3 separate regions of the Homo sapiens genome follow, and regions 2 and 3 are each linked to region 1. The links are contacts of gene promoters, found by promoter capture Hi-C in blood cells and fetal thymus (Javierre and others, 2016). All regions are on one chromosome and are shown on one strand. Each heading gives the region's core, a stretch centred on a gene start or on the middle of the fragment in contact. The rest is flanking DNA. Distances are from core to core; before and after follow the strand shown. Region 1 holds the start of NRAS (NRAS proto-oncogene, GTPase). Region 2 overlaps LRIG2 (leucine rich repeats and immunoglobulin like domains 2). Region 3 overlaps LRIG2 (leucine rich repeats and immunoglobulin like domains 2).

What was found. Contacts are between HindIII fragments. The CHiCAGO score rates a contact against its expected background, and 5 or more counts as called.
Region 2: a contact is called between a fragment that was not itself captured here and the fragment with the promoter of NRAS in region 1, in 4 of 17 cell types (M2 macrophages, total CD8 T cells, activated CD4 T cells and 1 more). The highest score is 7.6, in M2 macrophages.
Region 3: a fragment that was not itself captured here is called in contact with the fragment with the promoter of NRAS in region 1 in 4 of 17 cell types (M2 macrophages, monocytes, M1 macrophages and 1 more); the score reaches 9.2 in M2 macrophages.

What each region holds. Positions count from the first base shown.
Region 1 is chr1:114,714,142-114,718,020 of GRCh38, reverse strand. NRAS (NRAS proto-oncogene, GTPase) reads left to right here and starts at 1,250. Exons shown (of 7, transcript NM_002524.5): 1 at 1,250-1,363; 2 at 1,844-1,971. The coding sequence starts at 1,861. CSDE1 (cold shock domain containing E1) reads left to right here. Exons shown (of 20, transcript NM_001007553.3): 20 at 1-1,105. RefSeq lists enhancers at 1,245-1,444, 1,455-1,554. The HindIII fragment of the contact is 3,751 bases long and covers 1-1,788 here.
Region 2 is chr1:113,093,094-113,097,458 of GRCh38, reverse strand. It overlaps LRIG2 (leucine rich repeats and immunoglobulin like domains 2), which reads right to left. Exons shown (of 18, transcript NM_014813.3): 3 at 4,179-4,253; 4 at 3,895-4,029; 5 at 2,977-3,120; 6 at 2,704-2,847; 7 at 1,442-1,585; 8 at 1,094-1,237. Among named protein-coding and RNA genes, the nearest start is that of LRIG2, 22 kb to the right of the region's middle. The HindIII fragment of the contact is 3,284 bases long and covers 147-3,430 here.
Region 3 is chr1:113,111,686-113,116,050 of GRCh38, reverse strand. It overlaps LRIG2 (leucine rich repeats and immunoglobulin like domains 2), which reads right to left. Exons shown (of 18, transcript NM_014813.3): 14 at 3,291-3,572; 15 at 1,175-1,624. Among named protein-coding and RNA genes, the nearest start is that of LRIG2, 41 kb to the right of the region's middle. The HindIII fragment of the contact is 4,473 bases long and covers 1-4,365 here.

The sequences.
Region 1 (3,879 bases), core at 1-2,500:
GTTATGTTTAAAAAAATAAATAAATTTAAGAAAACCATTTTAAATAATGCACAGTTGCAGCCTGGAAAAACTTAAGGTGGCGCCTTATAGTATCAATTTTAGGAGCTTTATTTGGTGCATTTAACGCAACTGGTAATTGCAGAATCCACTTTGCCTGTGTAAGTGAAAAATATAGACTGTTATCTTGTTGGCCCTATGAAATTCTGCACTTTTCATTATATACTCTACCTTCATTAATTACTTCTGGCAAGATGTTCTGCCTTAGCACTCAGTTGCATTCTTTTCCTTTTTCTTCCTGTTCATTATGCTTTAATTCTGAGGACCATATGAGGGTAGAATATATTATCTTTTAAAAATTACAAAAATTTGTATAGGCAAACCATTTCTTAAAGTTGATGGCCAAATTTTAAAATGTTATTTTTCATATCATTTATAATCTTGTCACAATCCACTTAAAGAAGTTTGGTTATATTTCAGTGAAAATTTTCTTCCAGAGTAGGTTTTTTTTCGTGGGTTGGGGGGTAACTTTACTACAATTAGTAAGTATGGTGCAGAATTTCATGCAAATGAGGAGTGCCAGCAGTGTGATAATTTAAACATATTTAAACAAAAACAAAAAAAATGAATGCACAAACTTGCTGCTGCTTAGATCACTGCAGCTTCTAGGACCCGGTTTCTTTTACTGATTTAAAAACAAAACAAAAAAAAATAAAAAAGTTGTGCCTGAAATGAATCTTGTTTTTTTTTATAAGTAGCCGCCTGGTTACTGTGTCCTGTAAAATACAGACACTTGACCCTTGGTGTAGCTTCTGTTCAACTTTATATCACGGGAATGGATGGGTCTGATTTCTTGGCCCTCTTCTTGAATTGGCCATATACAGGGTCCCTGGCCAGTGGACTGAAGGCTTTGTCTAAGATGACAAGGGTCAGCTCAGGGGATGTGGGGGAGGGCGGTTTTATCTTCCCCCTTGTCGTTTGAGGTTTTGATCTCTGGGTAAAGAGGCCGTTTATCTTTGTAAACACGAAACATTTTTGCTTTCTCCAGTTTTCTGTTAATGGCGAAAGAATGGAAGCGAATAAAGTTTTACTGATTTTTGAGACACTAGCACCTAGCGCTTTCATTATTGAAACGTCCCGTGTGGGAGGGGCGGGTCTGGGTGCGGCCTGCCGCATGACTCGTGGTTCGGAGGCCCACGTGGCCGGGGCGGGGACTCAGGCGCCTGGGGCGCCGACTGATTACGTAGCGGGCGGGGCCGGAAGTGCCGCTCCTTGGTGGGGGCTGTTCATGGCGGTTCCGGGGTCTCCAACATTTTTCCCGGCTGTGGTCCTAAATCTGTCCAAAGCAGAGGCAGTGGAGCTTGAGGTAAGTTTATCTCATGCATAGTGTTCGGCTTTGGGCTGTGGAATGTTCAGGCGTTTCACTGATGCCAGAAATGGAGCAGAATCTATCAGCTGGAGACAAAGGCCTTGGGCGGGGGTCCTTCCATTTGGTGCCTACGTGGGGAGATCTTTGGAGACAGAAGGGAGAATGGGAAGGAGTTGCGGCCTGGAGGCTTCCTGCTAGAGCTGAGAAGCCTTCGGGGAGTAATAGGAAGGGGGATTTCCATTGCTTAGGCTGAGGGCGGGGCCCAAGGACTGTTGAAAAATAGCTAAGGATGGGGGTTGCTAGAAAACTACTCCAGAAGTGTGAGGCCGATATTAATCCGGTGTTTTTGCGTTCTCTAGTCACTTTAAGAACCAAATGGAAGGTCACACTAGGGTTTTCATTTCCATTGATTATAGAAAGCTTTAAAGTACTGTAGATGTGGCTCGCCAATTAACCCTGATTACTGGTTTCCAACAGGTTCTTGCTGGTGTGAAATGACTGAGTACAAACTGGTGGTGGTTGGAGCAGGTGGTGTTGGGAAAAGCGCACTGACAATCCAGCTAATCCAGAACCACTTTGTAGATGAATATGATCCCACCATAGAGGTGAGGCCCAGTGGTAGCCCGCTGACCTGATCCTGTCTCTCACTTGTCGGATCATCTTTACCCATATTCTGTATTAAAGGAATAAGAGGAGAGAAAGTAAAAAGTTATTTTGGGTATACATTCAGTTATGCAATAAGCTTAACGTGTTTATAGAGAACAGTTCATTTTTATTAGCTGCTGAAGTTTCTAAAACCTGTCCAGTTTTTAACAGTTCTGTAAACTATTGCAAACTCAGTGTTGAGTTCATTCATGAGTTTCTTCATATATAACAGCTCTATTACATGAGAAACACAGGCCATAGTAGCGAGACTGTCTGATTGTATGGGAGATAATAGGATGGAGATAAAGGATTCAGAGATGAGTGTTCTTCAATATTTATTTATTAGCTAGTTGAAGCAGCTGAGACCAGATGATTGGAGTAGCAAGAACTTGAGATTTTTAGTCTTTATGCCTAGGATTTTGGTCCCTGTTTGCAGTTTATTTAGTTGTGTGATATTGAGCAACTGAATCTCTCCCAACCTCATTTTCCTCATGTTTTAAATTACCATAAACTTGTCCTGCCTACCACACAGGGATGTTATGGAAAGTTAAATAATATATTTAAGTTATTTATGAATGGTAAAGCACTATGTAATAGTACTTAGGGATTCTATTGTTATTATGAGAGTTCATGGTACAGATTGTCTTCAGTAAGTGGCACCTAAGGCTCTTTAAATAAAGGGTTTTGCCGGACACGGTGGCTCACGCCTGTAATCCCAGCACTTTGGGAGGCTGAGGCAGGCGGATCACAAGGTCAGGAGTTCAAGACCAGCCTGATCAACATGGTGAAACCCCGTCTCTACTAAAAATACAAAAATTAGCTGGGTGTGGTGGCAGGCACCTGTAATCCCAGCTACTCAGGAGGCTGAGGCAGGAGAATCGCTTGAACCAGAGGCAGAGGGTGCAGTGAGCCGAGATCACACCACAGACCTCCAGCCTGGGCAACAGAGCGAGACTTCGTCTCAAAAAATAAATAAATAGATAAATAAATAAAGGGTTTTGTAATTTTGTTCAGTTTAGAAATGCCTAACTTTAGAGATTATTTTAATCAACACCTGGCCTCCCTACCATCTGGCTACTCGTGTTTAATTGATGAAAACTAACTCTAATGTAGCCACTATAAAAAATTGGTTGCTAACCCTTGGCAAAATCTTTATTTTGAGCTTAACAGCTTTAATATTTTACATGAAATGTTTAATATTTTAATTAAATATTTTTAAATGTTTGATTTATTGAGCAATTTACATAAGTAAAATACATAAATTTTATGTCTACAGCCCAGTGCTTTTTGCGTTTCTATATAGTCATGTAGCTACCACCCAGATAACAGTATAGAGCACTTCCAGTACTCCAGAGAGTTCTCCAAGTGTGATGACATTAAAATACAAGTAAAAGTCCTGTTGCCATAAAACCAAAATGAAAGTATTTTTTATATGATCTATGCATGTTTGTCTTCCTGAGAAATTAAACATAACTATACCTTGTTTGGAACCTTTAAGAATTTGATTCAGGAATATTTCCCAAAGGTACATCTGTCATGATAAAAAAAAAACCTTCTCTGAAACAAAGGTATTTGTATATTTAGTCATAAACACAAATGATGTATATAGGGCCAGGTTATAATTGGTGGAGGTATGTTTAGATTTCTTTAAGTAAAATAAACAGCACAAATAAAACAGTCCAGTTCATAGCTTAGTGAAATACACTGGGTACTTAATCTGTAGCCTCCTGGCTGCAGTAGAGTTGTCATTTGAGTTACTGTGTTTTCTTAATCTTTTCCAGGAACACAGTGACCATATTTCTTTTCTGCAGGCATATAGAATTTGGTGGGTTTTCTTTTATGTAGGGTGATATTGGATACTTTTTGTT
Region 2 (4,365 bases), core at 539-3,038, 1.6 Mb after region 1:
CACACCTGTGCATGTATATACCCTTCACAAAATTATCTTGTTTTCCCTCTCATTGATGGTTATGTCTCCAAGTTGGGAACCTGCCTCTTCTCTGAACCATTTCAACTCGAAACCTAATGACCACAAAGTCCTCTATTCAGGAAGCTTAAGAATCTACAAATTCTACTAATTACTCTTTGTTTTCTTTTATTCTGCTCTGTGTTTGAGATTACTATATTTCATTAAAATACCTCTTCATTTAATAAAATTATATTCTAAAATTAGATATATTTATATATAAATATATAAAGTTCACAAAAACACATTCTTATATTCTGTAAATTGAATAACTTACAGAACCACAGAATTTTAGCGTGGAAACTGCCTTTAGCAACCATCTAATCCTATATCCTTCCTTCACCGTATAAAGGAGAAAAAAAAATGATGGCCAGGAAAAGCTAAGTGATTTTGTTCTTCTGTTGGTATGATAAAATGGACATGAGCTTTAGCATCAAACAGACCTGGGATCTGATTCTGGCCCAACATTTACAAGCTATGTGACTTAGAGAAAATTATTTAAATTTCTCTGAACCTCAGCCTCCTAATATGGAAAACAGCAGTATCATCCTAGTATTTGAAAGTACCTGGCACATATCAGATAATAAGTATTAGTTTCTTCTGTCCAAAGTCATGTAGCAAACCAGTAACAGTGAACTGGTCTCCTACCACGGCAGTTCCCACTACACAACCTGCATCCTTTCGAATGAGAACTAGTAGCTCTGGTGTATTGTCAAAGTCAAAGGAACAAGAAAATGACTGCTCTCCTGACACTAGCAACTGTGTTTTATTCCACAGCAACTAACACAATAAGACATGCTTTGATGCTTATGGGATTAACTCAGAATTAAACTACAAACTGAATTGCCTACGACAGGCTTGGGATTTTTATGGGGATGGAGACAAATAAGACTGCCTTGCTCTGAGGCATAGGACAGAAGAACCACAAAATGTTAGCATACAGAATTTGCAGACTGATTAGTTGTTTTAATTAATTTGCTTTATTGTACTAAAAAAATCAGTAACAACAACCAAAAAGGAGAATGGATATACTTACAATGTCTGAAGATTGGAAAGAAATCTAAATACACCATCAGCAATATGAGTGACTCTGTTGTCTCCTAAATTCAATCTCTCCAATAAGCTCAGACCCACAAAGGCAGATTCATCCAGGCGGGTCAGCTGGTTATAGGACAAATCACTGAAAACAAGAAATGTGGAAGGTAAGGAATTCATTGTATTTGGTTCAACTTACAATTCTTATTATATCTACATGGTAAATTTAGAGCTTTCTACAAATTTCTAGTAAAGAGGGATGTTACATCTCATTACTGCCCATGGGAATGATTTATTCCAATCTGCTCTAGTCTTAACTGCCTCCAGTGAAATGCTATCCAACACTTACAGTTCGGATAGTCTTTGGCAGAACTCCCATGCATCAGGGCTGATTCTTTCAATAGCATTCTGGCTCACATAGAGCTGCTGTAACATTCGCAAGCCATACAACCACCCCTTGTTTACTCGTGTAAGGTTGTTGTGTTCCAGTTCTCTGCAGAATTAGAGAAAGAGAAGAAAATACGTTCCAAAACAAGGCAGTTCAATAACTAGCTTTAAATCTTAAGTTTTTCCCAGAGAAGCATATACCTTTGTTCAACCCAACTGAGCTGACCAATTCTATTCAATAAAAATGAATATCTTATTTAAGATTTAGTGCTTGGCCGGGCACAGTGGCTCATGCCTGTAATCCCAGCACTTTGGGAGGCCGAGGTGGGCGGATCACAAGGTCAAAAGATCAAGACCACCCTGACCAACATGGTAAAACCCCATCTCTACTAAAAATACAAAAATTAACTGGGCACGGTGGCGCGCGCCTGTAGTCCCAGCTACTCGGGAGGCTGAGGCAGGAGAATCGCTTGAACCCATGAGGCAGAGGTTGCAGTGAGCCGAGACTGTGCCACTGCACTCCAGCCTGGCAACAGAGCAAGACTCTATCTCAACAACGACAACAAAAAAAGAGATTTAGTGCTAGAAGGTAGTAAGACTGTCTAAAATAGGAGCTCTACAAAACCAACAGGCCAAGTGGTATAGTATACCTGTTTGGATAAATTCTGGTAATTTTCATTAGCCAAAACATTAAGAATATAAACTTTTTGGCCGGGCACGGTGGCTCATGCCTGTAATCACAGCACTTTGGGAGGCCAAGGTGGGTGGATCATGAGGTCAGGAGTTCGAGATCAGCCTGACCAACATGGTGAAACCCCATCTCTACTAAAAATACAAAAATCAGCCGGGCCTGGTGGCACACGCCTGTAATCCCAGCTACTCAGAAGGCTGAGACAGGAGAGTCACTTGAACCTGGAGGCAGAGGTTGCAGGAGCTGAGATCACGCCATTGCACTCCAGCCTGGGCAACAGAGTGAGACTCCATCTCAAAAAAAATATATATATATATATAAACTTTTTAGATGAGAAGTTTGTAAGAATTATTTCAAAATTGATCAGTTAGCTAACAAAACTTTAAAGGTTTTATGTACGCTTACTTCACATCAGTGACCAGGGAATGAATGAATGTATCTCTATAATCAGAACAACTACCCTAGCCATTCGACACTGAAAAGTCCCAAACAGACTACTTTCCTAATAATCACCTCTAGTCCCGAGTACTTACAGTTCTTCCATGTTATTCAAGCCAAAAAATGCTCCATCCTTAAGTTTGCTAATTCCATTCCGCTGCATTTTCAAAGATCTTAAGGAGTCAAGCCCTTGGAATGTAAGACCTTCCACAATTTTAATTCTGTTTCTTTTAAGTTCCCTTTAACAAAAATAGTTTTACAGTCAGGAAATTGGTTTGCTAAAATGTTCTAACAGTAATTAAATTAAAAAGAAAAAGACCCTGTAAGAAAAAACTATCTTCTTATAATCCGTCTATTTCGTTACTCACAAGAATTGGAGGTGAGGCAGCTTGAAGATCTTAGGTGGAATCATGCTCATTCGGTTACGGTTTAACTTTACCACTAATAAGGAACTTGATAAATTATCGAAGCAACCAGCCTCCAAGGTGGTTATTCTGTTATTACTTAAATTCCTAAAATAAACAAGATAATAGCAAAAGAAAAAATTTAGTAAAATAAAAATTCTACCACTAGAAAGCTGCCAAAAATCTATGTCTAAGCCCCCAGCTCTATCACTTAATGCCCATCCACAACTTTATAAATCATTTAACTGCTCTGTTTCTTCATCTACAAAATTAAGAAGCTACCTACTTCATTTAGGTTGTTACAAAACAGCATGTGTGAATATGCTTTGTAAACTGGAAAACACTGGCACACATGCTAATTATCATTATATACAGTAAGCCATTGTTTAACAAATCTCTATTTACCTTTTAGAAAGCTTGGTTCAAAAAAAAACAAACAAAATTGAATCTCAAAATTACCCTTGATATCTACCAATATTTTCTGACAATAGTGCGATCTTTCTTTAGGGGGCTTGTGGGGTGAGTGGCAAAGCCAACCACCCAACACACCAACTCTAGGTTTGTCTCACATATGCATATAAAAAGCACAATAAATAACCAAATATTTTTGGATAGGTACTGATGAATAATAAACATGTGCTTTATTTTATTTTATTTTTATTTATTTATTATTATTATACTTTAAGTTTTAGGGTACATGTGCACAATGTGCAGGTTAGTTACATATGTATACATGTGCCATGCTGGTGCGCTGCACCCACTAACTCGTCATCTAGCATTAGGTATATCTCCCAGTGCTATCCCTGCCCCCTCCCCCCACCCCACAACAGTCCCCATAAACATGTGCTTTAAAGTAAATCTAATTTAATCTGTGTTACTTACAGGTATTTAAGCTGCATGCGAGGAAATGAAGATGTCTTGATTTCTGATATTATATTTGAGCTGAGGTCTAAACTCTCCAGAGCAGGGTAAAACTGGAGTGCCTGTGCATTTATTTCTGGGATTATATTATGGACTCTGTAAAACAAAGATTATAATGAAGCTGCTGCCACTGATCCACCCCAGGCCACAAAAATGTTAATTAGAATCAACAATATATGTGCTTTAAAAAAAAAATGTATACTTTTCATAATTTAAGTAAAAAACCTGAAAACTTACTAACTTACAATGAAAGTAGAGTAATATTAGATGTAGGTTCTCCAAAATACGGGATTTCTGTTAGTTCATTGTAATTCATTTTCCTAGGCAAGAGGAAAAACAGATTTAAATGTTTAGTGAGGGAAATATTACCTCTTGGATTCTACCTTCTGGCTAACACATATTCTTTAGAATAGGTGCCAAATTTGAAAAAGA
Region 3 (4,365 bases), core at 932-3,431, 1.6 Mb after region 1:
TGCCACACTTTCATAATCTATCTGCCTAGATTTCTTTTCTTGCAGGATTCCAGGGTGAGAGGTGTAAAAGACTGACCTCAATGATCCAGTTTGATATTCAAGGGAAAAAAAGAGACTGATCTCAATCACAAGGGCTCCACTCTTCCTTACAGCAAAATTATGATGAAAAGGAGCCTTAGACATTAAAAAGAATGCATCTGTAATGCGTTTTTAGAAGTAAAGTTTGGCCGGGCGTGGTGGCTCACGCTTGTAATCCCAGCCCTCTGGGAGGCCAAGGTGGGTGGATCACGAGGTCAAAAGATTGAGACCATCCTGTTCAACATGGTGAAACCCCGTCTCAACTAAAAATACAAAAATTAGCTGGGCATGGTGGCACACGCCTGTAGTCCCAGCTACTCGGGAGGCTGAGTCAGGAGAATCGCTTGAACCCGGGAAGTGGAAGTTGCATTGAGCCAAGATCATGCCGCTGCACTCCAGCCTGGCAACAGAGCGAGACTCTATCTCAAAAAAAAAAAAAAAAATTTACAAATTCTTAAAATTGGTCAGACGCAGTGGCTCATGCCTGTAATCCCAGCACTTTGAGAGGCCAAGGTGGACAAATTGCTAGAGCCCAGGAGTTTGAGACCAGCTTGGGCAACATGGCAAAACCCGACTCTACTAAAAATATAAAAACTTAGGCGCGGTGGCACATGCCTATAGTCCCCGCTTCTCAGAAGGCCGAGATGGGAGAATCACCTGAGCCTGGGAAGTCAACGCTGCAGTGAGCCATGAATGTACCGATACACTCTGACCTGGGCATTACAGTAACACCCTATCTCAAATAAACAAAATTCTTTCCTCAAAGAGGTTCTGTTATGAACCTATTCCTCAAAGAGGTTCTGTTATATCAAAGAAGTTGAACATTTTAACAACAAAAACTCCCTTCTATCACATATCAGGTAATGTATCACAGCTCTTCAGTTTTTTGAGGGGGAAGATGAGGTCTTGCTATGTTGCCCAGGTGGGCCTTGAACTCCTGGGCTCAAGCAGTCCTCCCACCTCATCCTCCTGAGTAGCTGGGAGTACAGGCATGTGCTACTATGACCAGCTCTCAGTTTTTTATATTGTACAATTAATCCTATACTACATTCTTGACTGAAGTACAAGCCATAGGTGTCATGTGGGTACTACTTACCTGTGTTTGTGATACTATAGTCTTCATTTTTCCTTCTCATGTGGTAAATAACAATGACCCAGATCAAAGAAGTGCCAACAACACAGCAGACCACAACAATGATGACAATGCCAACTGTGGTCCAGCCATCATCTTCATGCCCAATGCTACTCTGGGAAGAGTCACAATTGGGGGATGAAATGACATTTAGGTAAATGTGGCCACGTTCTGTCCCAAGGGTGTTAGACATAATGCAGGTATATTTCCCAGCATCTTCTAGCCCGGCATCTACAATGATGAGAAGCTGATTGGCTGCAGCAAAGAAATGTCGTTCTGTCACCAGCAAAGGCCCATCATCTTTAGTCCAGTTGAGACGAGGGGCAGGACTCCCTCCAGCTATGCACTGTAACACCGCAGTTTCACCTCGTGTTACTGTCTTATCCTCCAGGGGTCTAATAAATGAGGGTGTCTCTAACAGGAAAACATTAAAAAAAAAAAAAATGAAAAGTTAGGCAATTTTATTCCCTAATTTCTACTGAATTAGACCAATGGGGGTATAATAAAATGAGTAATTTTATATACTCATGGGAGGATTAGAAGTTAATGTTTCAGAACAAAATCCTGAAAAAAGCCTCAATCTTTTCTCGATAATTCCAGCTTAGGCAAGCTATCCTAAGAAAGAAGTTCAGGGCAGCTGCAATAGCTGGAGGGGGTGAGCAGCGGTGACCCATTAAAAAAGATTAAAAATAACTTAAAAAAAAAGAAATTCAAAGATTTATACGCAAAGATGTTTACTACAAAATGTGTAACTTTAAAGAATAAAGAAAAACATTTTTAAATCTAGCAGAAAAATGATTAAGTAAATTATAGTCACATGATCTTTTACAAAGACTTTAATAACAAGGCAACTTGTGGTACAATATTAAATGAAAAAAATGTAGGTATATTTGACTACATAAAAGTGAGAGGGGAAAGTCTAGAATATGCTAAAATCCTTAAGTATTTGAGTGACTTTCCTCCCCTTTTCCTAATTTTCTGTATATCTTAACATGTTAAAACAATAAATGACTTATTTTTCTAAGGCTGAGGCAGGCGGATCATGAGGTCAGGAGTTCGAGACCAGCCTGACCAACATGGTGAAACCCCGTCTCTAAAAAAAATACAAAAATTAGCTGGGCGCAGTGGTACATGCCTGTAGTACCAGCTACTCAGGAGGCTGAGGCAGGAGAATCACTTGAACCCGGGAAGTGGAGGTTGCTCTGAGCCGAGATTGCGCCACTGCATTCCAGCCTGGGCAACAGAATGAGACTCCGTCTCAAAATAAATAAATAAATAAATAAATAAATAAATAAATAAATAAATAAATAAATGACTTCTTATTTTTCTGGTTATACAAGTAAACAATACAAACCAACAAACTTAAAAAAAATAATAATAATAACTGACATATAGGAAAATAGAGAACTGGAAAGTAGAATTTACCCTGGATTTGAGTTCCACGAAGAAAAGTATTGTAATAAGGAAGAAAAAACAAAACAAACAAACAACAACAACAAAAAAAACCCAGGCCAGCAGGGGAAAATTTTTAGGAAAAAAGGCATTTTACCAGAAATAGGGTTAAGAAGAACACACTGAAAAGGAAAGCAGAAACTCTAACCAGAAAACACATCTTTTTTTTTTTTTTTTGTATTAAATTTTTTTTGAAAATGAACTAGGAGCAAACAGTTAAATAGTCTTAGGTTCCTATCAAGCAATAAGTGAAGCAGCATCAAATGGCTGGGATACTCCTAAAAGAACAGTGGAACTCTCAATGCAAACTCAGTGAATAGTAAACACACCTACATGAAACAGAAACCTTACAGAGAGGGACTTAAAAAGATAAGCTGATAAAGGAATTTGAACTTTCAATTATTGTGACAAGGATGCCTACCTAATTTTGCCCTATGTATTTTCCCACATTTCAGTTATCTGACCCACTAATTCCTAGACTGACATAACCTTGCATAAAATTGTGAAATAAGATAAAGATCTAAGAATCACAGAGGTAATCTCAAACTTATTTTTCTTGCTCATTAAGACCAAGAGTAGCTCCCAAAGACTCCAACAAAAGCAGGGACCCATGGAGCAGTAAACGTACCTAACACTGTTAGGGAAGCATTTGCTGAGAGACCTCCTGCTGTATTTTGTGCCATGCAGCTATAGATTCCCATATCTTCTATTTTCACATTGGCAATAAAGAAGACGTCATCCTCGGGCATGACGTGCATGCGTCTTTCTCGAGCCGCAGGAAAGTCAGTACCACCATCTTTCTGCCAGGAAATCTGAGGTGCAGGGTGTCCCTCTGCAGCACATTCTAATCTGGCCATGGCACCAGTGCGAATAGTCAGATCCATTGGCGTTTTCAGAAAAGATGGCATCTCTGTTTCCAGAAAAATCACCAAGAAAAAGTGGGCAAGGGAACAAAGACACATATATGCATACAAATAGGCATGAAAGAATCTAGTAGGCAAGACACCCCCTAATGTTCCATTTCTTTGTGAAGACAGGCTCTCTGATTGAGAGTGAATATAGTTTTATAAATTTAAAAAAACAAAAACAAACTTTAGAGATAGGGTCTTGCTCTGCTGTCCAGGCGGGAGTACACTGGCGCAATCATAGCTCACTGCAGCTTCAAATTCCAGGCCTCAAGCTATCCTCCCACCTTGGCCTCCCAAAGTGCTGGGACTACAAGCCTGAGCCACAGCACCCAGCCAAGAGTGAATATGGTTTTGAGAACATCTTTTCTTCCAGAACCTCAGAGTATTTGGAGCACACTGATGACTGTGTCTTCTAGGATGCATGATACACTTAATCATCAGCTGGAACTAGGGAAAGCAGAAGGCCACAAACCTTCTTTGAACTTCGTATTTTAGAACCTGGTATTTACTATGACTCTCTCACTTATGAAGCTAAATGATGCTTCCCTGGGAGGCTGAGGCAGGAGAATCACTTGAAACTAGGAGGCGAAGGCTGCAGTGAGCTGAGATCACACCACTGCACTCCAGCCTGCATGACAGAGTGAGAGTCCATCTCAAAAATGTTCCCAAACCAACATCTACAAAGCTATCAAGGAAACTGCATGCTAAAAAAACTTATGCCTTCAAAAGTATCATTAAAAAACACAGAAGCAAAACATAAGTACATCTTTTGGTTGTACAAACCCTAAAATGTTG